Regions from separate parts of the Homo sapiens genome. Here regions 1, 2, 3, 4, 6 and 7 are each linked to region 5. The links are contacts of gene promoters, found by promoter capture Hi-C in human tissues and cell types (Jung and others, 2019). All regions are on one chromosome and are shown on one strand. The core of a region is centred on a gene start or on the middle of the fragment in contact, and the rest is flanking DNA. Distances in the headings are between cores, read along the strand shown. Region 1 overlaps KDM2B (lysine demethylase 2B). Region 2 has its middle 30 kb from the start of XLOC_009911. Region 3 overlaps SPPL3 (signal peptide peptidase like 3). Region 4 overlaps SPPL3 (signal peptide peptidase like 3). Region 5 holds the start of P2RX4 (purinergic receptor P2X 4). Region 6 holds the start of SPPL3 (signal peptide peptidase like 3). Region 7 overlaps SPPL3 (signal peptide peptidase like 3).

Region 1 (3,562 bases), core at 347-2,846, 270 kb after region 5:
TACAAGTTTGCAGCCCAGGAGCAACAGGCTTTACCATACAGCCCAGGTGTGTAGAGGGCTATATCATCTAGGTTTGTATAAGGACATTCTATGACGAAATTGCCTAATGATGCATTCTTCAGAATGTATCCCTGTCATTAAACTACACATGACTCTGTGTGTGTGTGTGTGTGTGTGTGTGTGTGTGTGTGTGTGTGTGTATTTCATCAGACATGTCTTCCCTAGGTTAGCTAATCTGGTCAAAAATGGACACACAAAAAAACTATACCAAAACTTGGAGGCCAGGTGTGGAAGCTCATACCCGTAATGCCAACACTTTGGGAGGCTGAAGCAGGAGGATCACTTGAGCCCAGAGAGCTTGAGACCAGCCTGGGCAACACACTGAGACCCTGTCTTTACAAAAAATAGAAGAAAATTTAGCCAGGCAAGGTGGCATGCACTTTTAAGTCCCAGCTACTCAAGAGGCTGAGGTGTGAGGATCATTTGAGCCCAACAGGTTGCGGCTGCAGTGAGCCAAGATTGTGACTGCACTCAGTCACCCTGGGTGACAGACAGGGACTCTGTCTCAAAAAACAAAACAAAAAAAACAGGCACAGTGGCTCATGACTGTAATCCTAGGACTTTGAGAGGCTAAGGCAGGAGGATTGCTTGAGCCCAAGAGTTTGAGACCAGCCTGGGCAACATGGCAAGACCCCATCTATAAAAAAAAATTTTTTTTAGAAAGAAAATCTTGGAGATGAGGAGAAGACTAACCCCCCTGCCCCACAACCCCCACGTCTTTGAATAGATGTTATTTTCTCTCCAAGAGTTGGGGCATCTCCCTATGGCTCTATCATCACTCAAGAGAGATTTTAGGCCAGGGGCAGTGGCTCACACCTGTTATCCCAACACTTTGGGAGGGCAAGGTAGGAGGATTACTTGAGTCCAGGAGTTTGAGACCAGCCTGAGCAATAGAGTGAGACTCTGTGTCCAAAAAAAAAAAAAATGCCCGGCACGGTGGCTCACGCTTGTAATCCCAGCACTTTGGGAGGCCAAGGCGGGCAGATCACCTGAGGTCAGGAGTTCAAGACCAGCCTGGCCAACATGGTGAAACCCTGTCTCTACTAAAAATACAAAAATTAGCTGGGTATGGTGGCAGGCACCTGTAATCCCAGCTACTCGGGAGGCTGAGGCAGGAGAGTCACTCAAACCCGGGAGGCGGAGGTTGCAGTGAGCCAAGATTGTGCCATTACACTCCAGCCTGAAGGACGAGGGCGAGACTTCGCCTCAAAAAAAAAAAAATTAGCCGAGCATGGTAGTATGCCTGTAGTCCCAGCTATTTGGGAGGCTGAAGTGGGAGTACTGTTTGAGCTCAGGAGTCCCAGGCTGCAGTGAGCTATGATCACGCCACTGCACTCCACCCTGGGTGACCGAACAAGACAAGCGGCATCCAACAGGTAGTTTTTTGTTTTTTGTTTTTAAAAAAAAAAAACCCTGTCTCTTAAAAATAAAATTAAAAAGAGTGACTTTAGGTCCTATTCCTGAAAGGTAACACGGTTAGAAACTATAGGCCCTAAACCCCGGGATGTGTTAAAACTAACTGAAACAAAGAGATAGTTCAATCACCTCTTAAATGAGCTGCTAACAGTCACTGTGGGGGTCTGATGGGCTCCGATGACACTTTAATTCCAATACATATGGCTTTTCTCTCCCTCCTTCCTTCCCTCCCTCCTCCCTTTCCCTGGCTGCTGCCATGGGCCTCTCTCTTCAGTTACCATTCTTGTTCTTCATTTCATGGATTTTCATAGATCCATCAAGACACTCAAAATAGAAAAAGCCTGACAAAATCTATTGTCACCATTTGAAATAGCCATTAACCAACTCCTTACTTTGAAAATCAGCATTTAAAGGGCAAGAAGTGAAGCCCTCACACTGCTGGCTCAGGAGGAACTGTTTTTAGGGGTAGCCCCAGTTGACAAGGAAAAGCTCTGCCAAACATCGCCAGCTAATTCACACGGAATGACATTCTTCAAAGATCATTTTTCATCTCCTGATGAAACAATTTTTTTAATTTGAATCTTGTAGAGACGGAGTCTCACTCTGTCACCCAGGCTGGAGTGCAGTGGTGCCAATGATAGCTGACTGCAGATTCTAACTCCAGGCCTCAAGCAATCCCCCCATCTCATCCAACTAGCTGGGACTACAGGCACAAAGCCACCACACCAGGCTAATTTTTTTTATTTTTTGTGGAGGCATGGTCTCACCTTGGCTTCTAAAAATGGTACCTTCTAAAAAGGTATTGTAAAAATACCTTTCATTACAGGTATGAGCTACCATACCTGGCCTGGCCCCAGTTATTTTTATATATGTATGTATATATGTATTTATTTTTTTAAGAGACAAAGTCTACTCTGTCACCTACGCTGGAGTGCAGTGGCACAATCACAGCCCACTACACCCTCCAACTCCTGAGCTCAAGGGATCCTCCCTCCTTAGCCTCCTGAGGAGCTAGGACTACAGGTGCATGCCACCATGCCCAGCTAATTTTTTTCTTCTTTTCTTTTTGTCTTTCCTTTTTTTTTTTTTTGGAGATGGAGTTTTGCTCTTGTCACTCAGGCTGGAGTGCGATAGCATGATCTCGGTTCACTGCAACTTCTGCCTCCCGGGTTCAAGCGATTCTTGTGCCTCAGCCTCCAGAGTAGCTGGGATTATAGGTGTCTGCCACCACACCCAGCTAATTTTTATATTGTTAGTAGAGACAAAGTTTCACCATGTTGGCCAGGCTGGTCTCAAACTCTTGACCTCGGGTGATCCACCTGCCTTGGCCTCCCAAAGTGCTAGGATTACAGGTGTGAGCCATCGTGCCCAGGCTTTTTTCTTATTTTAAAACTTTTTTTTATCATTAAAAAAATTTTTATGGAGACGGGGATCTCATTATGTTGCCCAGGCTGGTCTTGAACTCCTGAGCTCAAGGGATCCTCCCGTCTCAGCCTCCCAAAGTGTTGGGATTACAGGCGTGAGCCACCTCAACTGGCCTTAAATCTTTTTAAAAGTTCTGTAGAAACAGGTTCTCTCCATGTTGCCCAGGATGGTCAACAAATAACCCTCCCGCCTTGGCCTCCCCTCCCAAAGTGCTGGGATTACAGGAATGAGCCACTGCGTCCAGCTTCCAATATTTTTTTTCTTTTTATGTTCAGCAGTACATGGGCGGGTTTGTTATATAGGTAAATGGTGTGTCGAAGGGGACTGGTGTACAGATCATTTCGCCACTCCGGTAGTAAGCACAACAATACCCAATAGGTAATGTTTTTTGATCCTCGCCCTCTCCTGCCTACCTCCACCCTCAAGTAGATCCTTTTTTTTTTTTTTTTAAGACGGAGTCGTGCTCTGTCGCCCAGGCTGAAGTGCAGTGGCGTGATCTCGGCTCACTGCAACCTCCGCCTCCCAAGTTCACGCCATTCTCCTGCCTCAGCCTCCCGAGTAGCTGAGACTACAGGCTCCCGCCACTACGCCCAGATAATTTTTTGTATTTTTAGTAGAGACGGGGTTTCACCGTGTTAACCAGGATGGTCTCGATCTTCTG
Region 2 (3,076 bases), core at 73-2,572, 280 kb before region 5:
CACTGGGGAGCTGGTGACACCCTGACATGGGCTCCATACTTGCTGCTCCTTCTGCTTTTCTTCCAGTGGCACACTTGAGGGATGCAGGGACTCACATAGGACCAATTCCTGCCCCACTGTGTCCCCTAAGTAACCCACATCCAAAATATATCCCGAATTCAGCCATTTTCCTTCTTAGGTCAATTCATTCCTTCTCTCTCTCTCTTTCTCTCTCTCTCCTCTGTCAGAGAGACAGGGTCTTGCTCTGTCACCCAGGCTGGAGTGCAGTGATGTGGTACAATCATAGCTCACTGCAGCCTTGAATTTCTGAGCTCAAGCAATCCTCTTGCCTCAGCCTCCCAACTAGTTGAACTACAGGCATGTGCCACTGCATCCAGCCAAGTTTTTTTTGTTTTTGTTTTTAGTAGAGACAAAGTCTCGTCATGTTGCCCAGGCTGGTCTCAAACCCCTGGGGTCAAGCAATCCTCCTGCCTTGGCCTCCCAAAGTGCTGGGATTACAGGCTTGAGCCATGGCGCTGCCACCGCCTACTCCTCCTCCTCCTCCTCCTCTTCCTCTTCTTCTTCCTCTTCTTTTTTTTTTTTTTTGAGTTGTACAAGAAAATGAGAGGCCAAAGGCCCGTGATTTACAGGCAGCCTGGTGGAGGAGAAGTGGTGTGTAGTGCTGTTACATGGTCTCTAGGGCCATATACTCCGGTTTGAGTTTCTAGTTCTTTGACTATATGACTGTGGCTAAGCAATGAAGCTTTCTAGACCTGCGTTCTCATTCATTAAATAGGAATGATAACACCTCATAAGTATCTAAATGAGATACTGTAGGTAAGTGTACATCATAGAATTTTAAATCTGGTAAGTGTGTGGTAGGCTGAATAATAACCCCTAAAAGATGTCCAGGTCCTGCCGGGAGCAGGCTCACACCTGTAATCCCAGCACTTTGGGAAGCCAAGGTGGCGGGATCACCTGAGGTTGGGAGTTCAAGACCAGCCTGACCAACATGGAGAAACCCCCTCTCTACTAAAAATACAAAATCAGCTGGCCGTGGTGGCACATGCCTGTAATCCCAGCTACTCAGGAAGCTGAGGCAGGAGAATTTCTTGAACCCGTGAGGTGGAGGTTGCGTTGAGCCAAGATCGCGCCATTGCACTCCAGCCTGCGCAACAAGAGCAAAACTCTGTCTCAAAAAAAAAAAAAAGATGTCCATGTCCTAATCTCTAGAACTCTAGAACCTATGATTATAGGAAAGGAGACTTTGTAGATGCATCAAATTAATATTTTTGAGATGAGGAGATTATCCTGGATTATCTAGCCCAATATAATCACACAGGTCCTTGGAAGAGGTGGGCACACCAGAGTGAGCGGTAGCAGATTTGACGATGGAAACAAGAGGTTGTAGTGATCGATGAAGGGAATGTGAGCCAAGGAATGCAGGTGGTCCTCTAGAAGATGAAAAAGGCAAGGACACATTCTTCCCTCAGAGCCCTCACAGGGAACTAGCCCTATAAAACCGATGTCAGATTCATGACCTCCGCAACTATGAGAATAAGCTTGTGTAAAGTCAATATTTGTGGTAATTTCTACAGCAGCAGTAGGAAACTAATATAGGATGTTACTCACATTTATTCATTTGTTTACTTATTTATGAGACAAAGTCTCGCTCTGTTCAGGCTGGAGTGCGGTGGTGTGATCTCGGCTCACTGCAACCTCCGCTTCTCAGGTTCAAGTGATTCTTCTGCCTCAGCCTCCCAAGTAGCTGGGATTACAAGTGTGCACCACTACAGCTGGCTCATTTTTATATTTTTAGTAGAGATGGGGTTTCACTATGTTGGCCAGGCTGGTCTTGAACTCTTGGTCTCAAGTGATCTGCCTGCCTCAGCCTCCCAAAGTGCCAGGATTACAGGCATGAGCCACCGTGCCCAGCCTCTTCTTCTTTTCTTCTTCCTTCTCCTCCTCCTTTTTTGATTGAGATATAGTTCACAAACTATAAAATTCACCCTTTTAAAGTGTGCAATTCAGTGGTTTTTAGTGTAGCTATCAACTTGCCCAACCACTTTCATAATCTACTTCCAAACCATTTTTATCTTCCCCAAAGAAACCCCACACCCATTCACCGTCATTCCCCATTCTCTCACCACCCCCAACCTCAAGCCCTTGTCAACATCTAATCTAATTTCTATCTCTATGGAGATGCCTATTCTGGACATTGCATATAAATGGAATCATACGATTTACAGTCTTCTGTGTCTGGCTTCTTTCACTCTGCAGAATGTTTTCAAGGTTCATCCATGTTGCAGTGTGTCAGTACTGCATTCCTCTTTTTTTTTTTTTTTTTTTTTTTTTTTTTTGAGACAGACTCTTGCTCTGTTGCCCAGGCTGGAGTGCAGTGGCACGATCTCAGCTCACTGCAACCTCCGCCTCCTAGGCTTAAGCAATTCTCATGCTTCAGCCTCCCGAGTAGCTGGGATTACAGGCCTGTGCCACCACACCCGGCTAATGTTTGTATTTTTAGTAGAGATGAGATTTTACCAGGTTGGCCAGGCTGATCTTGAACTCCTGGCCTCAAGTGATCCACCCACATTGGCCTCCCAAAGTGCTGGGATTACAGGCATGAGCCACTGTGCCCAGCTGCATTGCTTGTTATGGTCAGAATGATTCTATTGTACAGATAGGCCACATTCTGTTCCCTCGGTGGATGGACATTTGGGTTGTTTCCACTTTTGAACTACTATAAAGCTGCTATGAGCTTTCATATATAAGTTTTTGTGTGAACATGGTTACTGCTTGCCTGGATGAGACCGTTAACCTCCTCACTGGACTCTCAGCCTCTGCCCTTAACCCACACAGGGTCCATCCTCCTCACAGCAGCCAGAGGAGTCCTTTGAAAGTCAGGTCATGTCATTCCTGTGTTCTAAACCACCAGTGGCTCCCCAGTGCCCTGAGGATAAAGTTGAAGACCCAGCACAATCTCCACCCCAGCTCCAGCCCCACTTCTTCTTCACTGGCTGGCTCTCAGTTCCTCAAATGAGCAATCCTCCTTCCTGCCTCCCTCCCTCTGCAAGTGCCGGCCTTCTGCTTGGAATGC
Region 3 (3,289 bases), core at 318-2,817, 360 kb before region 5:
TAATATACATATTTTACATATATGAAATATATTTTATATATAATATACATATAATATATTTCATATATTATATCTATGTATATTATATATAAAATATATTTCATATATCATATATACATATATGAAATATATATTTCATATAATATATACATATGATATATGAAATACATATTTCATATAATATATACATATCATATATATTTCATATATATATATATATTTTTTAAGATGGATTTTCACTCTTGTCGCCCAGGCTGGAGTGCAGTGGTGCATTCTCGGCTTACTGCAACCTCCACCTCTTGGGTTCAAGCGATTCTCCTGCCTCAGCCTCCCGAGTAGCTGGGATTACAGGCACCCGCCACCATGCCTGGCTAATTTTTTTGTATTTTTAGTGGAGACAGGGTTTGACTGTGTTGGCCAGGCTGGTCTTGAACTCCTGACCTCAGGTGATCCGCCCGCCTCAGCCTCCCAAAGTGCTGGGATTACAGGCATGAGCCACTACGCCCGGCCTAAAGATATATTCTTTACCATCATCTTATCTGCTCATCCACTTTTTTTCCTAAGGCAAGCAAATGAAGGAAAATGTATATGGTAAATATTTGATTTCTAAGTCTACAGAACTATATTATATTACATCTACAAGCAGAGAATTCCTGTTAGACAAATAAAGTACACTGACATTTTTATCTGCCCAAAGGAATTGCACTTACTCATTCAAATGTCACATGGACAAACATCTGACACCAAACGTAAAATTTTTTCCTTAGTAACTTCTAAAAATGTACACAATAGTAGCAAAACAAGAAGCTGTAACAAACCATAGTATTCCTAATTCTTTTGATATAAATTTTAGACTAAGAAGAAGATATGATGCACACCAAAGCACATGGAAAGGAAGTTTCAGCATTTGTTCAAAATGATTAAATTCATGGATCTTCTAGACCAGTGATTCTCAAAGCTGATGGTGTATCCAAATCACCTGGAGGACTTGTTAAAACACAGATCGCTGTACCTACCCCAGAGTTTCTGGTTCAGCAGATCTGGGGCAGAGCCAAGCATTCATAAATTTCTAAAAAGTTCCCAGGCAATACAGATGCTACTACTAGTCCAAAGACCATACCTTAAAAATCAGTTTTAGATAAAATTCACATTTTCATAGCAATTCAGAAAAACTACTGAATATATTATGAAAGCAAGTGAGATGAATTTGTATTTGGAATAGCAAAAAACAACAACAAAACCCAAACCCAAAACCACATGAAAACAAACACCACCACCACCACACACACGCACACATACACACACACACACACACACACACACACACACACACACACACGGGGAAAAAAAAGGCCAGAGGGAGAAGAAAACCCCACAGTGACAGTCAGTTCCCCAAACAGGATAAACCTAGCTACTCAAACTGAATTACTCATGACTGTGCAAGTTATCAATGTACCCTTTACTGACGGCTCTTCAAGGAGTAAATGTAAGAACACATGTGGCAGCCTCCTGTGAGGTGGGCAGAGGAAACTGACCCAAGGAAATCAGAAAAGCCAAGGGTTTACCATGAAGCACCTAAAAAATTCTCCACATTCAGTGGGAGGTAAACATGGTCCACCCCTAAAACAATTTTAGAATGCTCAAGAAACTGTTTTGGTGATAAGTGTTGAATTATATGTATCTATATACATACTCTAGTAGTCTGATGCTAAGTAAATCTAGTCTTGCCAACATACAATGGAGAAGTAAGCAAGCCAACAGCACAGGTCTTTTTTCTTTTTAAGTCATGGCAGCTATGTGCTGTGTGACCACCTTCCTTTTGCAACAGCTACACCTATAAATCACTAAAACAATAATTGATGAACAAGAGCCTGAGGTGCTATCAAAGCCAAATACATGTTAAATTATATATTCTGTATATTTTATTAAGGCAAGAAACCATTTTAATAATACTAAAAAGATTTTCAAAAAGACTCAAGCAAAAATGACTGTCAATTGGGTCTAAAATTCAGTCAGCCTGAATGCCCCAAAGTCTAAGGAAGCATCATGAAGTTACAAACCTTTCCAAAGGTCAACAAGAAGAAGCTAACTTCCTATTATTCCTACTCCTTTTAAATAACAGTCATTACCAAGTGTTTCCAAAGCGGGGCATTTGTTTTGTTATAATCAAAACCTGCTCAACTGAGGAAAAACAGTGCAATGAAAATATTCTTATATTTATGACATTCAAGATCACTATTTGGACCAAAGAACACGCCAGGATTTTTATAGCACCTGCATGTAACTGTTTCATGATGACCCTCCACAAGGGGCAGGGAAGGGACAGGGAAGGAAGAAGCATGCAGGGCTTTCCTGACCCTACTTCTAGTGTGTAGGAAAGAGGAGAGGGAACTCATTATCCCTCCAGCCACCGTTTCTTCTCCTTGTATGGATGGATCACTAGACCCCACAGAGTGCAAGAATGACGAGAGAAGGGGACTATCAGTGATTAATCCTTGTACTAATAACTTATAAAGTACATCCCCTCAGTATAACAGATTCCATATAGCACAAAAAATGAACAGAAATAATAGTTTCCTGGCATTTTCCAACTACCCAATTAGAAACTGACAAATGTATAAAAAACAATTTTTGTCAAGTAAATCATAGGCCCTGGCTATTTAGCACTATGACCTCAAAGCTTAATTTTCAAATAAAATGACTGGTCTCAAGAAAAACAGGCCAGGCGCTGTGGCTCAGGCCTGTAATCCTAGCACTTTGGGAGGCCGAGGCAGGCAGGTCACATGAGGTCACGAGTTCAAGACCAGCCTGGCCAACATGGTGAAACCCCGTATCTACTAAAATACAAAAACTGGCCAGGCATGACGGCAGTTGCCTGTAATCCCAGCTACTTGGGAGGCTGAGACGGGAGAATCGCTTGAACCCGGGAGATGGTGGTTACAGTGAGCTGAGATCGTGCCACTGCACCACTGCACTCCAGCCTGGGCAGCTGAGCAAGACTCCATCTCAAAAAAAAAAAAGAAAAGAAAAGAAAAACAGTACTTCAGAAATGTGTTCAGTACTTTTTCTGGCAGTAAAACAACCTTTTTGTTTCTCCTACACAGAGAAATTATTTCACTCATGCAAATGAATGGGGGTGTACTTGAAGCCCCAGAGCCACATGGGGTGGTCTCATTGTCAGATTCTGTGGCTGTTCACCATGAACATGCTTTCTGGAATGCACCTGAGAAAATCTCAAGACTAAATGCAATTCTGAAAAGGCCCAGGGAGTGAATCGTGATTAATGTAA
Region 4 (3,447 bases), core at 241-2,740, 420 kb before region 5:
GAGGACATATGCAAGTGCAGTTGCATTATCTTTAAGGCAAAAATCAACATAGGAAATAGGCTTGGTAATGGAATTAAAAATTTTGTACAGCAACATCATTTTTAACATTCAATGAACATGGCTACAGGCTAAATGTACGTCTGGTATGGAATAGACACTGAGCAATAAAACCAATAACTATTAAGAAAATTACTGATTTTACACCTCCCTGTAAGAACGATGCTTTTGACTATTTGCTGAACACTTATTATATAGTAAGCAACAGGAGGGATTAAAAGAAAGTCATTTCCAGATCTCATGAAGTTTACAATCTAAGCAAGAAGATTAAGATGTATACCTCTACTAAAGATGAGGATCCCAACTATACATCTCCATCAATCTTTATAACTCAAATAAATTATAACTGAAGTTTAGTAAAAGTCTTTAAGATGTCAGATAATTGGGCAGGGGTGTACATGGCTTTTTAAAATTCCACTTAATACTACTTAAATGAAGGACTGATGTGCCATGGGAAAATAAATTTCTATATTGGCTTCTTGGGGGCAGGCAGAGAAGTTAGAACAAGGTCAGGGGAAATCAGAGGACCTGGAGGGAACTCTTGCCCTCCACCCTCACTCCTGTCACTTTCTAACCTTTTTTATGGTGAAGCATCACACCCAGAAAAGCACAAAAATGAATTATTACATATTTAATACCACTCAAGTCAAGAAACAAACCAACCCCAGAAATCTTCCTTTGTGTCCCTCTCAATCACTACTTTCTCTCTCTCTCTCATTCTCCTGAAGGGAACCGCTATCCTGACTTTTATGACACGTTTTCCACCCAAGCACGCATCCTTAAATACTAGTTTGCCTGTTTCCTAAATTTTATATGCATTGAGTTATGTAGTTATTTTTTTGTGTCTGGCTTCTTTGACTCAATATGATTTGTGAGAATTATCCATGCTGTTTTATGTAGCTACAGCAGTTCACTTGTTTTCACTGTATGAATACAGTAAAATTTATCCATTCTACGGTTGACATTTGGGTTGTTTCCAATTTTTTGGTTATTACAAATGCTGCTGCTCTAGGCACTCTTGCACATGACTTGATGCACATGTGACTGTATTTGCTGGATATATAACTAGGAGTGACACTGCTGGGTCCAAGGGTATTTATACTGTCACCTTTAGTAGGTAAAATGTCAAACTGCCTTCCAAAGTGACTGTGCTAACGCATGCTCTCCAGTAACGCAAGAGGGCTCTTTGCTGTTGCTGTGCATCCTCATCAGCACTGGGAATGGTCAAGGTTTTTAATTTTAGCTATTCTGGTGGTGGGCATGTAGTGCTTTTTCATTACTGTCTTCACTTTTACTTTTCTGCTTTCTAATGAGTTGAGTGCCATAGTTCCTGGCAGGCCTGATCAACTCTTCCTCTTACTTCCATGTGTTTCGAGTTGCCCAGATAGGTGGAACATTATTATAATCTGAAGTAATAATTACCCAGTCTTTTGGTCAAATACCCTAGGGCACCCTGCAGCGAGAAACTTTCAATTACAAACTGATTTCTCCATTTTTAAGTTCTGATTTTTTGGGGCATGAGTCACATGGCCCATCTAACCCTCTGTTGAGTCTCACTTAATGCTTCTCCTTCTCCTAGCTCCTATTATAATCAAGGACAGTCAAATCATTTCTGACATATTCAAAGCATGTAATCGTAAGAGTAACCCTTCACCCACGTACCCCACCAATGATGCTGGCTACACCTACAACTTCTCCTGCTCTCCTATCTCTTTACAAATTCCTTGTTTCTTATTATTTTGGGAGTGGGCAGCTACAATCTTTTAAAAACTTCTGATTACTGTCTCCTTCAATCAGTCTGAAACACTCCTGACAAAATCTTAACACTAAATTTATACTTTCTTTTTCTCAAAACCTTCTCCCCAGTTGTTCCACATTGTTAATCATCCAGGACTTCCATCTCCTTAGCACCTACACCTCTCTGTTTCTCTGTTCATCTTTCTGGCTATTATTTCTTTGATTCTTGATAAATTCATCCTGTTTTCCATGTCATCCTTTCAATCTGTAATAATTTTATATTCCATAATCAAGTACTGGTCGGCCGTCTTTGTAATGGCTTCTTCATTATGTTCTTCTTTGAGGAAGTGAATTTTGCAGTCTATGCTAATCTGTCCTTATCCTATTGGCATCCACTGCTCAGAGCAGGCACTGAAGAAATGTTGTCAAGGATAATTTAGTACAACATAGCTGGCAGAGTTAAGAAAGACCATTTAGGTTGGGTGCAGTGGCTCATGCCTATAATCCCAGCACTTTGGGAGGCCAACACTGGAGGATCACTTGAGGTCAGGAGTTCAAGACCAGCCAGGGCAACATGGTGAAACCCCATCTCTACTAAAAATACAAAAATTAGCCAGGTGTGGTGGTGGGTGCCTGTAATCCCAGCTACTCGGGAGGCAGAGGCAGGAGAATCACTTGAACCCGGGAGGCGGAGGATGCAGTCAGCAGAGACTGCACCTCTGCACTCCAGCCTGGGTGACAGTGAGACTCTGTCTCAAAAAAAAAAAGAAAAAAAGCATTTAAAAAAGAAGTATTCTACCACTCTTTAGACTGTGCTTCATGAACAAAAAATAAAAAAGCTTATGTTGGCTGGGTGCAGTGGCTCATGCCTATAATCCCAGCACTTTGGAAGGCCGAAGTGGATGGATCACTTGAGATCAGGAGTTTGAGACCAGCCTGGCCAACACTGTGAAACCCCATCTCTACTAAAAATACAAAAATTAGCCAGGCATGGTGGCGAGCGCCTGTAATCCCAGCTACCCCAGGGGCTGAGGCTGGAGAATTGCCTGAACCCAGGTGACAGAGGTTGCAGTGAGCTGAGATCACGTCATTGCACTCCAGCCTGAATGACAGAGCAAGACTCCGTCTCAAAAAAAAAAAAAAAAAAAAAAAAAAAGAGCTGTATTACCAGGTAACTTCTTTCCACTGTACGGACTGGCACAACCATTTCTTGTTTTTGTTTGTTTTTGAGGTAAACTTAGACATAATAATATAGGTAGATTTCTTTAGGTTTCTGTGATGCAATGTACAGCAGATTTATAATTTGGTTTAAGAACATCACTTGCATATGTGCTACATAATACAGGACTTTTAAAAAGAGTTTCAGGAGTATAAACTGATTTGGCTTAAAATGTTGACAGAAGATAAGCTGCTATGTAATAATTTAATCTAAAAATCAGATTTTGCACCAGGTTTTATGTGGTTCCTTGCACTAGTAATAACTACTGGTATGGAATTTTATATCATACAAGGATCCATGTCATAAATTTAAGAAAAGACTCATTATATTTAAATGAGTCGACTTACCGTCTTTATCATGCCCACTTTGGCACTGCCAGGGACAATGAAACCCATGTGACTGGGTCTGTGCCCGGTGAAAACTGGGCAAATACA
Region 5 (3,512 bases), core at 375-2,874:
CAGAAACCACGTAGTGCGAATCAGAAAATGAAAAGCACAGCCATTGACTATGATTACAAACCAAAACTTTATACCAATTACCTGTTGGAATTTATGCTGCATGAAGGCAGGATATTTTGCTTGTCCTGTTCACTGGACAGTACTTGGCATAAAGGATGTGCTTATGAATATTTTCTGGGAAACTAAATATAACATTCACCTGTGAAAACACATCTGGGCCAGGCGCAGTGGCTCACGCCTGTAATCCCAACACTTTGGGAGCCCGAGGCGGGTGGATCATGGGAGGTCAGGAGCTGGAGATCAGCCTGGCCAACATGGTGAAAACCTGTCTCTAATAAAAATACAAAAATTAGCTGGGCGTGGTGGCGGGCACTTGTAATCCCAGCTACTCAAGAGGCTGAGGCAGGAGAATTGCTTGAACCTGGGAGGCGGAGGTTACAGTGAGCCGAGATCGCGCCACTGCACTCCAGACTGGACAAGAGTGAAACTCCGTCTCAAAAAAAAAAAGAAAAAGAAAAAGAAAAAACGTATCTGAAGGGAATGAACAAATACACATGCGGAAAATTGTATTCATGGGGTAGAACGGTGGCTGTTTCCCCCCCTTTCACTATTTTCTCTCCTAAAGTTGTGATAGCATTTTCTCAGTGGAAAGGATGACCACAGAATTATCTCCCCTGGGCTGCAACTAAGGAAGTATTTGGAGTGAGAATGCGACCAGGCTTCAAATCCAGGAGGGGTATTTTACAGGGCGTGTGGCTCTCACCCAGGGCTCACAGGACACCTGATATTTAGGCTGTTCCCCAAGAGGCTAAGGACAGCGCGGCCCCAGCTCCCCCAACCACAGCTGCCCAAGTTTAGGAGCCCGCACTCGTGAGCGATGGCTACTCCGCACAGCCCCGGGGTCCTCTACGGAAATCCCTGGCACCTATCAGTACCCCTAAGGGAGGTCGCTCGTTACCCCTCACTTGAACTCTGTCCCAAATGGGAGGTCACTCTCTCTTCGCGGACCCCATCTTCCCCGAAAGGGTCTCTTGTTCTCTCTGGCCCTCCTGAGAAGGTCATTACTCCCCAACTCGCCTTTTTTGTTGTTTTTTGGTTTCTGGTTTATTGAGGCAGGGTCTCGCTTCATCTCCCAGACTGGAGTGCAGTGGCGCGATCACAGCTCACACGGCAGCCTCTACCTCCTGGGCTCAAGCGATCCTCTCACCTCAGCCTCCCTGGGACTACAGGCGAGCGCCACTACGCCCGCTTTTTTTTTTTTTTTTTTTTTTTTTTTGTATTTTTGATAGAGACGAGGTCTCGCTATGTTGTCCAGGCTGGTCTCTAACTCAAGATTCCTCTCACCTCGGCCTCCGCAAGTGCTGGGATGACAGGTGTGAGCCACCGCCCCCGGCCCCTCGCCCGCCTTTTGAAGGAGCCTTTCGTCCTCAAGGGCGAGGCCACTCCCCCCCCGCGAGTTCCATGCCCCCTAGAGGGTCATCGTTCCCGACGGGGAGGTGGCGCCCTCCCCCGGGCCCCGGGCCCCGACCGCCCGTGCTGCCTCCTTCCGGGCCCTCCTCCGCGATGACGGCGCCGCCAGCAGGCCAGGCGGACTGGGCGGGGCTCCGAGCGGGGACTGGGACCCAGACCGACTAGGGGACTGGGAGCGGGCGGCGCGGCCATGGCGGGCTGCTGCGCCGCGCTGGCGGCCTTCCTGTTCGAGTACGACACGCCGCGCATCGTGCTCATCCGCAGCCGCAAAGTGGGGCTCATGAACCGCGCCGTGCAACTGCTCATCCTGGCCTACGTCATCGGGTGAGCGTGGGGCCGCGCGGGGGGCGCGGCGGGTGCTGCCCTCGCGTCCGCGCCGTGCGGCGGCTCATCCTGGCCTCGGTCACCTGGGCGAGTCCGGGAGCGGCGAGCCGAGGCGGTGACACCTTCCCTGGGCCCCAGCCGCCGCGCCGGGGCCCCGGGGGCGGGAGGCTGCTTGCTGCTGTTTTAAAACCACAGCCTGGGCCAGGCGCGGTGGCGCAAGCCTGTAATCCGAGCACTTTGGGAGCCCGAGGCGGGACCATCGCCTGAGCCCAGGAGTTCGAAACCAATTTGGGCAACATCGTGGGACCCCGTCTCTGCAAAAAATTAAAAATCATCCGGGCCTGGTGGCGCGCGCCTGGGGTCCCAGCTACTCAGGAGGCTGAGGTGGGAGGATCGCTTGAGCCCAAGAGGCTGAGGCTGCAGTGAGCTATGATCACACCACTTAACTCGAGCCTGGGAGACAGTCCGAGACCCGTCTGTTTACAAAATAAATAAAGGCAAAGCCTGGCTAGGCTGTTACCCTCTCCTGCCTGACCCCCCATAGTGCCCCTTGGCTGTAGGGGCTTCGCCCTGAACGTCTCAATCTTCGCTCTCCACTTCCCATCCTGCTGATTTGCTGACAAAACCAAAGCTTGGAATTTCCGCTTGGTTCCTTCTGGGTGGGTGGCTTTTGGTCATTTCTTTTGATCACTATGCGGTGTCACTATGTGGTAGTAGCGAGGTCAGACTGTAGCGAGTGTTTAAAGTTTGCTTCCTTTGTTTTCTGGGCTTGTGGGGCTTTTTGTGGTACCTGCCCTAGCCTAGTCAGTCATTCCCCATGCTGCCCCCTTAGGCTAGAGATGCCCTACCGCCCTCAGGCCTCGCTGAATGTGCCATTGTACTTGAAGGCACCTGTTACTTTTTTAATTTTTTTATTTTTTTGAGACGGAATTTCTCTCTTGTCGCCCGGGCTGGAGTGCAATGGCACGATCTCGGCTCACTGCAACCTCTGCCTCCCGGGTTCAAGCAATTCTCCTGTCTCAGTCTCCTGAGTGGCTGGGATTACAAGTGCCCGCCACCACGCCCGGCCAATTTTTGTATTTTTTAGTAGAGACGGGGTTTCAGGCTGGTCCTGAACTGACCTCAGGTGATCCGCCCACCTCAGCCTCCCAAAATGCTGGGATTACAGGCGTGAGCCCCCACGCGGGGCTGGCACCTGTTACAATTGAATACAACGCGAGAGAGAAGATGATAATTACCTTGCCACCTGGGGCCACTTTAAAGGCTTACCTGGGGTGTTCTGGTGTCTACAGCTGCTGGGCTGACACGTATTGCCTAGTGCAGTGGTCTCCAAACTGCACATTGGAACCATCTGGAAATCTTTGGCTCCCATCCCCAGACCCTTTTTTATTTTTTTGATGGAGTCTCCCTCTGTCGCCCAGGCTGGAGTGCAGTGGTGCAATCTTGGCTCGCTGCAACCTCCACCTCCCTGGTTCAAGCGATTCTCCTGCCTCAGCCTCCTGAGTAGCTGGGATTACAGGCACCCACCACCATGCCCGGCTAATTTTTGTATTTTTAGTAGGGACAGGGTTTCGCCATGTTGGCCAGGCTGGTCTCGAACTCCTGGCCTCAGGTGATCCACCCGCCGCAGCCTCCCAGAGTGCTGGGATTACAGGCGTGAGCCACCGCGCCCAGACGCATCCCCAGACCTTCTGATTTAATTGCTGCAGAGTATGATC
Region 6 (3,421 bases), core at 578-3,077, 310 kb before region 5:
CTGTGGAAAAGGTAATTCCCTCTATTTTATAGGTAAGGAAAAAGGACCGAAGAACTCACTACCATGTCGTATCAACAAAGCAAGTTGGTGGCAAACCGGACCTCCGAAATAGGTCTTCCAACTCCACACGGCATGCTCGTCCCATTCTATTATGCTCTTTTCTAAGAAGGGAATGTCTACAGTTCTGTCCCAAACCACATTTGCTTCAAGAGTAAACCATCTTCAAACCATTTCTCTAAATTGCAATCAGGTCCCCCACTCCTACGATCATGCCATTTCTTGCTTCCTCACTCTCCAGCTATGACTTCCTTCTCACTACCCGATTTCCACTCTTCATGGATACTGCCATCATTCCTTCAACCCGTCCTGCAAATATCCCACCTCTACATGCTAAAGGGAGACCCCTCATGTTCCTTCCCCCAAACCCTGGCACTCCCTTCTCCGGATATGTAGGTTGTCACCCCATAAACTACACAGTAGCTTCTCGCTTCTCGGCCCTTAACGAGCTACTTACTAACTTTAAAAGCCCCACAGAAATGAACTTAACTTGCAGGTCCTCCACCTCCACACTTGGCCCTGGGCGCCATTCCTCTGAAAATAATAGTACCAACCCTTACAAAGACTCTGCCCATGCCCCACTGTCACCAACGAATTCCTTTTCCAGAAGGAAAAGGAAACAGGTTCTTCAGGCTCCTCTTCCAACCTCTTCACCAGTGACTCCCCTCCAAGGTTCGTGGACTCTACCCCCGCAGTTTTCCTCCCCTCACTCCCGGGCCTCTGCCCACCTCACCAACTCTCCCTGCGCTCCCTGTCCCAGAGCCAAGCGGCGGCCGCTCCACTCTCCCAACTTAGAAGTTCTGCCTCTATCACCTGTTCTCACTAGAGCTTCCTCTCAGCCCAGCGGCCCACCTTTGCCCTGGCCTGCCTCTCTCCACCCCTTCGAGTCCTCCTGCCCAGGAAACACCCCCACGAGTCAGTTCCGGGGTGCCTGTCGGATTCAACTTCCCATCCGTGGGATTCCCACCCCCGGGGTCATGCTCCCCTTCTCCATCACCTGCTCCGCCCATAGCCAGATGACATCCGCCGCTGCCTCCTCCTCCATTCCCCTTCTCGGACGCCAGGTCCCCGGCCACTCACCGCCCTCCGTGCGCGCCAGCCGCCCCCTCCGGTGGGGAAGAGGGGGGCGTGCACCCCAACCCGCGCCCCCCCCCCACGACACGCACCTGTTCTTCCTCCTCTTCCCCTCGGCGGGCCGCGCCGGCGCCCCGACCCCCACCCTTGCCGCCTCCCGGCCTCCCGGAGCCCCGCACTCACCACGAGTAGGTCTGCTCCGCCATGGCGCTGCCTCTCGTGGGCTCCGCTGCAGGCTGTGGCCGGGCCCGGCGGCGGCGGGCTCGCTCGGGCCGTAGCTGAAGGCGCGGCCGGGGTCCGGTGCTTGCTTGCTTGCTCGCTCGCTGGCTCGCTGGCTGCACGGCGGGCCGGGAAGGCGGCTGGCGGGGAGAGGCCGGGCTCCGAAGCGGCCCCGCTCCCTGGGCCCCGGGGCGGGGCGGGCTCCGCTCTCGGCCTCCCTCACCCGCGGCGGCGGCGGCGGCTCCGCTGCAGCTCCAAACCCAACATGGCGGCGGCGGCGGCGCGGAGAACAAGGGGGCCCTGGGGCGGGCGAACGGCAAGACGGGCCCGCGCTCACTGCGCGCGGGGCCGCGGGAGCGCCGCGCTCGGGCGGCGGCGGCGGCGGCCGGGGGACATGGCCGGCGGGCGGAGGCGGCGGCGACTGAGGGGGGCGCTAGGCGATGAGGCGAGGCCACTCGATCACACCCGCCGAGGGGAGGAGGGGCGGGGGCGGGGGCGAGCCTTGGCCCCGCGCGGGTCACGTGCCCAAAACACGCTCACGTGATGCGCGCCCCGCCCCTCGAGCCGGGCCCATGCGCAGAGACGTCGGCTCCTGGGTTCTAGGCGGCTGCTGCTCGCACAGCCAGAGCAGTTGGGCCGCCTCCCGCTGCCTGGTGCCGCCCCCCTCCCCACGCGGAGATGTCGCCTCGGGTACCCTCTTCCGCCCCTCTCCGAGGGGCTGCTGCACCAGCCAATCGGGAACCCCGATGCGCGTCTGTTGGCTGCCACTCAGCTGTCAACCGTCAGTCAACAGTCTGCTGGCCACGGGCCCCCCAACTGTCAGTCAACCTGTCAGTCAACAGGCAGAGGGCTGCATTCCTTCGTTCGTATGTTCCTTGGTTCATTCATTCAGGTAGCAAATATTCCAGGCAGCCAACCTTTATTGCGCCCAGGCCCGGCACCAAGTCGAATACCCCACGCTTGCCTTCACAGAATCAATCAACAGATATTTGTTGGGTGCCAACCATGTGTCAACTCACTCTGCCTTCCTAGAGCTTACATTCTAAAGGAAGAGACATAGTCCAAGCCCACAAATAAGATAATTTCAGATGCTGCTAAGTTTTACAAAAACACATTTTGTAACACAAGGTGAGGGGACAGAGAGTGAGCAGAGGTGTGGGTTACTTTAGATAGGGTGGTCAAGGAAGGCCTCGCTTAGGAGGTGACATTTGAGCTGATATTGAATGATGACAGAGAGCTGGCCTTGCAAAGATCCACAGGAAAAGAGTTCCTGGCAGAGGGAACAGCAAGGGCAGAAGGCTCAGGAAACCGTCCATTTGGAGGTCTGGAAACCGGCACAGAAATAAACACGGTAGAGCTAGACCAGAGACCAACAAAGTGAATCTGGAGCTTAGATGGAGAGAGAAGAGAGAGATTAATTGAGGCCCCAGGTACTGCGGAATGCTTCCCCAGGAGTGGATGAGGCCGTCTGAAAGGGTGAGAGGCTTATCAAAGAAAAGTCATTCTTTTGGCCGGGCGCGGTGGCTCACGCCTGTAGTCCCAGCACTTTGGGAGGCCGAGGTGGGTGGATCATGAGGTCAGGAGATCGGGACCATCCTGGTTAACACGGTGAAACCCTGTCTCTACTAAAAATACAAAAAATTAGCCGGGCGTGGTGGTGGACGCCTGTAATCCCAGCTACTCAGGAGGTTGAGGCAGGAGAATGGCGTGAACCCCGGAGGCAGAGCTTGCAGTGAGCCGAGATTGCGCCACTGCACTCCAGCCTGGGCAACAGCGAGACTCTGTCTCAAAAAAAAAAAAAGAAAAAGAAAAAGAAAAAGAAAAAAAAAAAAGAAAAGGCATTCTAGAAAGAAAGAATGGCATGAAGTAAGGCCCAATTCCTGGTGAGCTTGAATCCGAGAGTGGGATGGGTGATTTGTGCTGGAGTGTTGAGAAAATATACTGAGAAGGTGCACTGAGGCCAGACTTTGAGGGCCCAGCTAAGCCTCCTTGCCAGTTACTGTGTTCATGAATAAAAATGATTAACCAGTGCAGCTTCAGAATTTAGAAACATGCCTGGGCAACAGATACA
Region 7 (3,061 bases), core at 2-2,501, 370 kb before region 5:
CTGGTTTCATTTCCTTGATTGAAAAACTCTTCTCCCTCTTAAAAGATCTCTTCTATGTTGATAGTATCTTGAAAAACAATATCCTTATGCCTTCATGTAAAAAGCTTAATGTAAAGACAGAAATCTGTGTGGTCTCTCCAAGTCGGTATTACAGAATTCTGGCACTACATATACAAGCCCCTGCTATTTTAGGATCACAAGAAACAGCTAGCCTGGGAAAATGAGAGAGAGGTGAACCATTCCTAACATCTTAACAGCCACTTCAAGCAACCACTTGTTCTGCAAATACCACAGGCCCCTTGAGAATCCTTAGATTTGGTTGGTAACTTAAATTCTGGCAACTTCCCTTGCAACAGAACTGTTCTATCTGAAATGGGCATTAGCAACAGAAAACTATGTAACCATATCACATTCTCCTTTGTACTTTTTATGAAATTCAAATGAGTTCACATTTCAAAATTGAAGTAAGGTAGCATTTACAACAAATCCAAGCAGACCCATGTGCCATCATTTCTGTAACTTTGGAGTGTGCACCACATTGTCTGTAAAGCTGGCCACCAAGAATGCCTCTCATCTCTGCATATATCTGCTACTCTTCCCACCAAGAAGGGGAGTCTATTTCCCCTCCCCTTGAATCTGGGCTATCCTTGCAACTTTCTCCAACCAAAAGACGGCTACAGAAAGCAGGCTGTGCCAGTTTTAGGCCTAGATTGAAAAGAGATCTAGCAGGCTCCACTTTTGCTTTCTTGGCACCTGAAGCTGGCATGCAAGGAAGTCCAGGCTCTCCTGTTGGAAAGAGGCCACACAGAGAAAGAAGCCTAGCAGAAGACAACTACATGAGAAAGGTTGTGGGGAGGAGCACTTAGACACCTCAACAAAAAGCCAGTACCAAGGCTCTATGCATGTGAATGAGACCATCCTGATCCTTCAGTGCTGGTAGAGTCCGGCAGACACCACACGGGACAAAGACAAAACCATCCCAACTGAGCCCCTGCCCAAATGCAGATCTGAAGAATCATGAGCAAATATAGCATTTCTGGAAGGACAAAACTTTAAAATGGCAAACAGATTAGTGGCTGCCAGGAGTTAGGGACCGGAGTGAGAATGGAGGGTTAGCACCGGGAAGGTGTGGGATATGCTTACAAAAGGGCAACCCAAGGGATACTTTCAGTGTTAGTTCCATTCACTATCCTGACTGTGGTGGTGCATACAGAAACACAGGCAGGTGGTAAAACTGTACACGCCTTAACATGCACATGTGTGTGTGCATACGTGCATATACGAGTGCAAGTAACCAGGGGTATCTGAATAAGATAAATGGGTTGTATCAATGCCAATATCCTGATTGTGTTGTTAAGAGTTTTACAAAACGCTGCCCATTGGGAGAAACCAGGCAAAGAGCACATGAGCTCTCTGCATTTTTTTTTTGTAACTGCATGTGAATCTATAATTATGTCAATAAAAATTTCAAAATGGTGACATTAAGCTACTAGGTTTTGCGGTAGTCTGTTTTACAGCAATAGATAATAGATAACTGATACAGAGCAGTAACATTTTAATGTAACTTGTTAGCTAAGATTTGTAAGACTAACTGGCTGTATATCTGATGTTAATAAGTACTAGCTATATTATTAATATGGTTTTATTTTTGCCTAGTTTATCTGCATTTGACCAGTTCTCAATCACAAGCAATAATTGTCCCTTCAACTGGCTAGAGAGAAATGTGAAGAGAAAAAAGGCAGATATGAAAAAGGTTAATATTGTCAAAGAGGTACTTTCCTCATATTTTAACAACTCTGAAATTGGAGCGCATTTTATAACTGGCAGCATTTTTTTATTGGTGGCACAAAAATAATGTTAAATCAATAGTCTTCAATTAGCTGAAATACGTGATATTAAAATCTTAGTTCTTCCTGAATCCAAATTGGTATTTAGCTGCATTTGAAGGCATTAAACATTTTTGAATTTTCTATAATGCTTTTTAGCACTGTATTTGTACTTACTCTTTATATCATACAACAACCTTCCATTTATTATCAGAAGGGAATGCGATTCCTGTAAGTCAAACAGATAACTTCAACTACCACAATTTACTAGGCAATTAAAAATACCCACCTAAAAAGGAAAAATAAAAAACTACAATATGGCAGAGACTGCAAATTTCCTTCCAACATTTATTCTCTCCCTTTTTGGTAAAATAATCCTGATTTTTAAAATAATGCATTTCCAACCTTTCCTGCAGCTGTTACATACACACACACACACACATGACTAGTGCCTAAATTCTGACAATATCAAAATGGTATAGTCTCTACTATCCAGGTGTGTTGGTGGGCGACTGTAATCCCAGCTACTGGGAGGCTGAGGCAGGAGAGTCACTTGAACCCAGGAGGCGGAGGTTGCAGTGAGCCAAGATCACACCACTGCACTCCAGCCTAGGCGACTGAGCAAGACTTCGTCTCAAAAAATAAAAAATAAATAAAACTCAGACACAGTGATTATAAACACAGCCCATACTTACTACTTAAAACAAAGGAACTGTCTTAAAGCTATAAAATGCTTTACCAAAACAAGGAAGAATAAAAGGACATAGACACGAAAGGCTAGAAAAAGAAATGGTCTCCTGAGAGATGGGCTATCTGAATTTGGTAGGTTATCAGATACAGGCTCGAGTGCAGTGAATGCATATTTATTTTTTCCTTATCAGCTCTACAGGAGAGGTGTGACTCTGTAGTAGACCCTTGTTGGATACTTCTCCAGCATACTTTCTTCCTTCCTCTCCTAGGAGAACCCTGATTTGGACTGTACTCACTCCCGGCTCCAGCTTATCCCAAACTGCGACCAAAAACAAGCACACAGCCAAGGCAGATCAATCAGGGGCCAAGAAGATTTGATTCGGGGACTTCCATTTAAGCCTCCTGGGAACGCTGTCCTAGTCAGTGTGGAGGATCAAGTCTTGGCTGAAGCCAGATTTACCTGGATTTTTCAGCTACTCTATTGGAAAAACTTCTTTATCACTTAAGCCATTTGGGCTCTCTGTTCTTTGTGTCCAAACATTCAA

The links. The method cuts DNA at HindIII sites, captures the fragments that hold promoters and counts their contacts. A contact is called where the count stands out against the background at its distance.
Region 1: a fragment that was not itself captured here is called in contact with the fragment with the promoter of P2RX4 in region 5 in 4 of the 25 tissues and cell types used here (H1 embryonic stem cells, dorsolateral prefrontal cortex, spleen and 1 more).
Region 2: a contact is called between a fragment that was not itself captured here and the fragment with the promoter of P2RX4 in region 5, in 2 of the 25 tissues and cell types used here (heart left ventricle and lymphoblastoid cells).
Region 3: a contact is called between a fragment that was not itself captured here and the fragment with the promoter of P2RX4 in region 5, in 5 of the 25 tissues and cell types used here (IMR-90 fibroblasts, lymphoblastoid cells, mesenchymal stem cells and 2 more).
Region 4: a contact is called between a fragment that was not itself captured here and the fragment with the promoter of P2RX4 in region 5, in 2 of the 25 tissues and cell types used here (aorta and hippocampus).
Region 6: the fragment with the promoter of SPPL3 here is called in contact with the fragment with the promoter of P2RX4 in region 5 in 2 of the 25 tissues and cell types used here (hippocampus and liver).
Region 7: a fragment that was not itself captured here is called in contact with the fragment with the promoter of P2RX4 in region 5 in 2 of the 25 tissues and cell types used here (dorsolateral prefrontal cortex and mesenchymal stem cells).

Annotation. Positions count from the first base shown.
Region 1 is chr12:121,475,028-121,478,589 of GRCh38, forward strand. All of the region lies in intron 12 of KDM2B (lysine demethylase 2B), which reads right to left. Among named protein-coding and RNA genes, the nearest start is that of MIR7107, 32 kb to the left of the region's middle. RefSeq lists an enhancer at 1,169-1,996. The HindIII fragment of the contact is 8,981 bases long and covers 1-3,562 here.
Region 2 is chr12:120,933,405-120,936,480 of GRCh38, forward strand. No RefSeq gene overlaps it. Among named protein-coding and RNA genes, the nearest start is that of XLOC_009911, 30 kb to the left of the region's middle. The HindIII fragment of the contact is 5,842 bases long and covers 1-3,076 here.
Region 3 is chr12:120,852,687-120,855,975 of GRCh38, forward strand. All of the region lies in intron 1 of SPPL3 (signal peptide peptidase like 3), which reads right to left. Among named protein-coding and RNA genes, the nearest start is that of SPPL3, 50 kb to the right of the region's middle. The HindIII fragment of the contact is 8,131 bases long and covers 1-3,289 here.
Region 4 is chr12:120,786,902-120,790,348 of GRCh38, forward strand. All of the region lies in intron 3 of SPPL3 (signal peptide peptidase like 3), which reads right to left. Among named protein-coding and RNA genes, the nearest start is that of ACADS, 63 kb to the left of the region's middle. The HindIII fragment of the contact is 5,083 bases long and covers 1-3,447 here.
Region 5 is chr12:121,208,505-121,212,016 of GRCh38, forward strand. P2RX4 (purinergic receptor P2X 4) reads left to right here and starts at 1,625. Exons shown (of 12, transcript NM_002560.3): 1 at 1,625-1,794. The coding sequence starts at 1,661. It overlaps LOC105370032 (a long non-coding RNA gene), which reads right to left and starts at 1,568. Exons shown (of 4, transcript XR_001749352.3): 1 at 1,345-1,568. RefSeq lists a silencer at 1,331-2,070 and an enhancer at 2,401-2,450. The HindIII fragment of the contact is 10,060 bases long and covers 1-3,512 here.
Region 6 is chr12:120,902,531-120,905,951 of GRCh38, forward strand. SPPL3 (signal peptide peptidase like 3) reads right to left here and starts at 1,828. Exons shown (of 11, transcript NM_139015.5): 1 at 1,315-1,828. The coding sequence starts at 1,337. XLOC_009911 (a long non-coding RNA gene) reads left to right here and starts at 2,165. Exons shown (of 2, transcript NR_131215.1): 1 at 2,165-2,242. RefSeq lists silencers at 1,178-1,227, 1,368-1,587, 1,668-2,027. The HindIII fragment of the contact is 15,749 bases long and covers 1-3,421 here.
Region 7 is chr12:120,835,571-120,838,631 of GRCh38, forward strand. All of the region lies in intron 1 of SPPL3 (signal peptide peptidase like 3), which reads right to left. Among named protein-coding and RNA genes, the nearest start is that of SPPL3, 67 kb to the right of the region's middle. The HindIII fragment of the contact is 7,575 bases long and covers 1-3,061 here.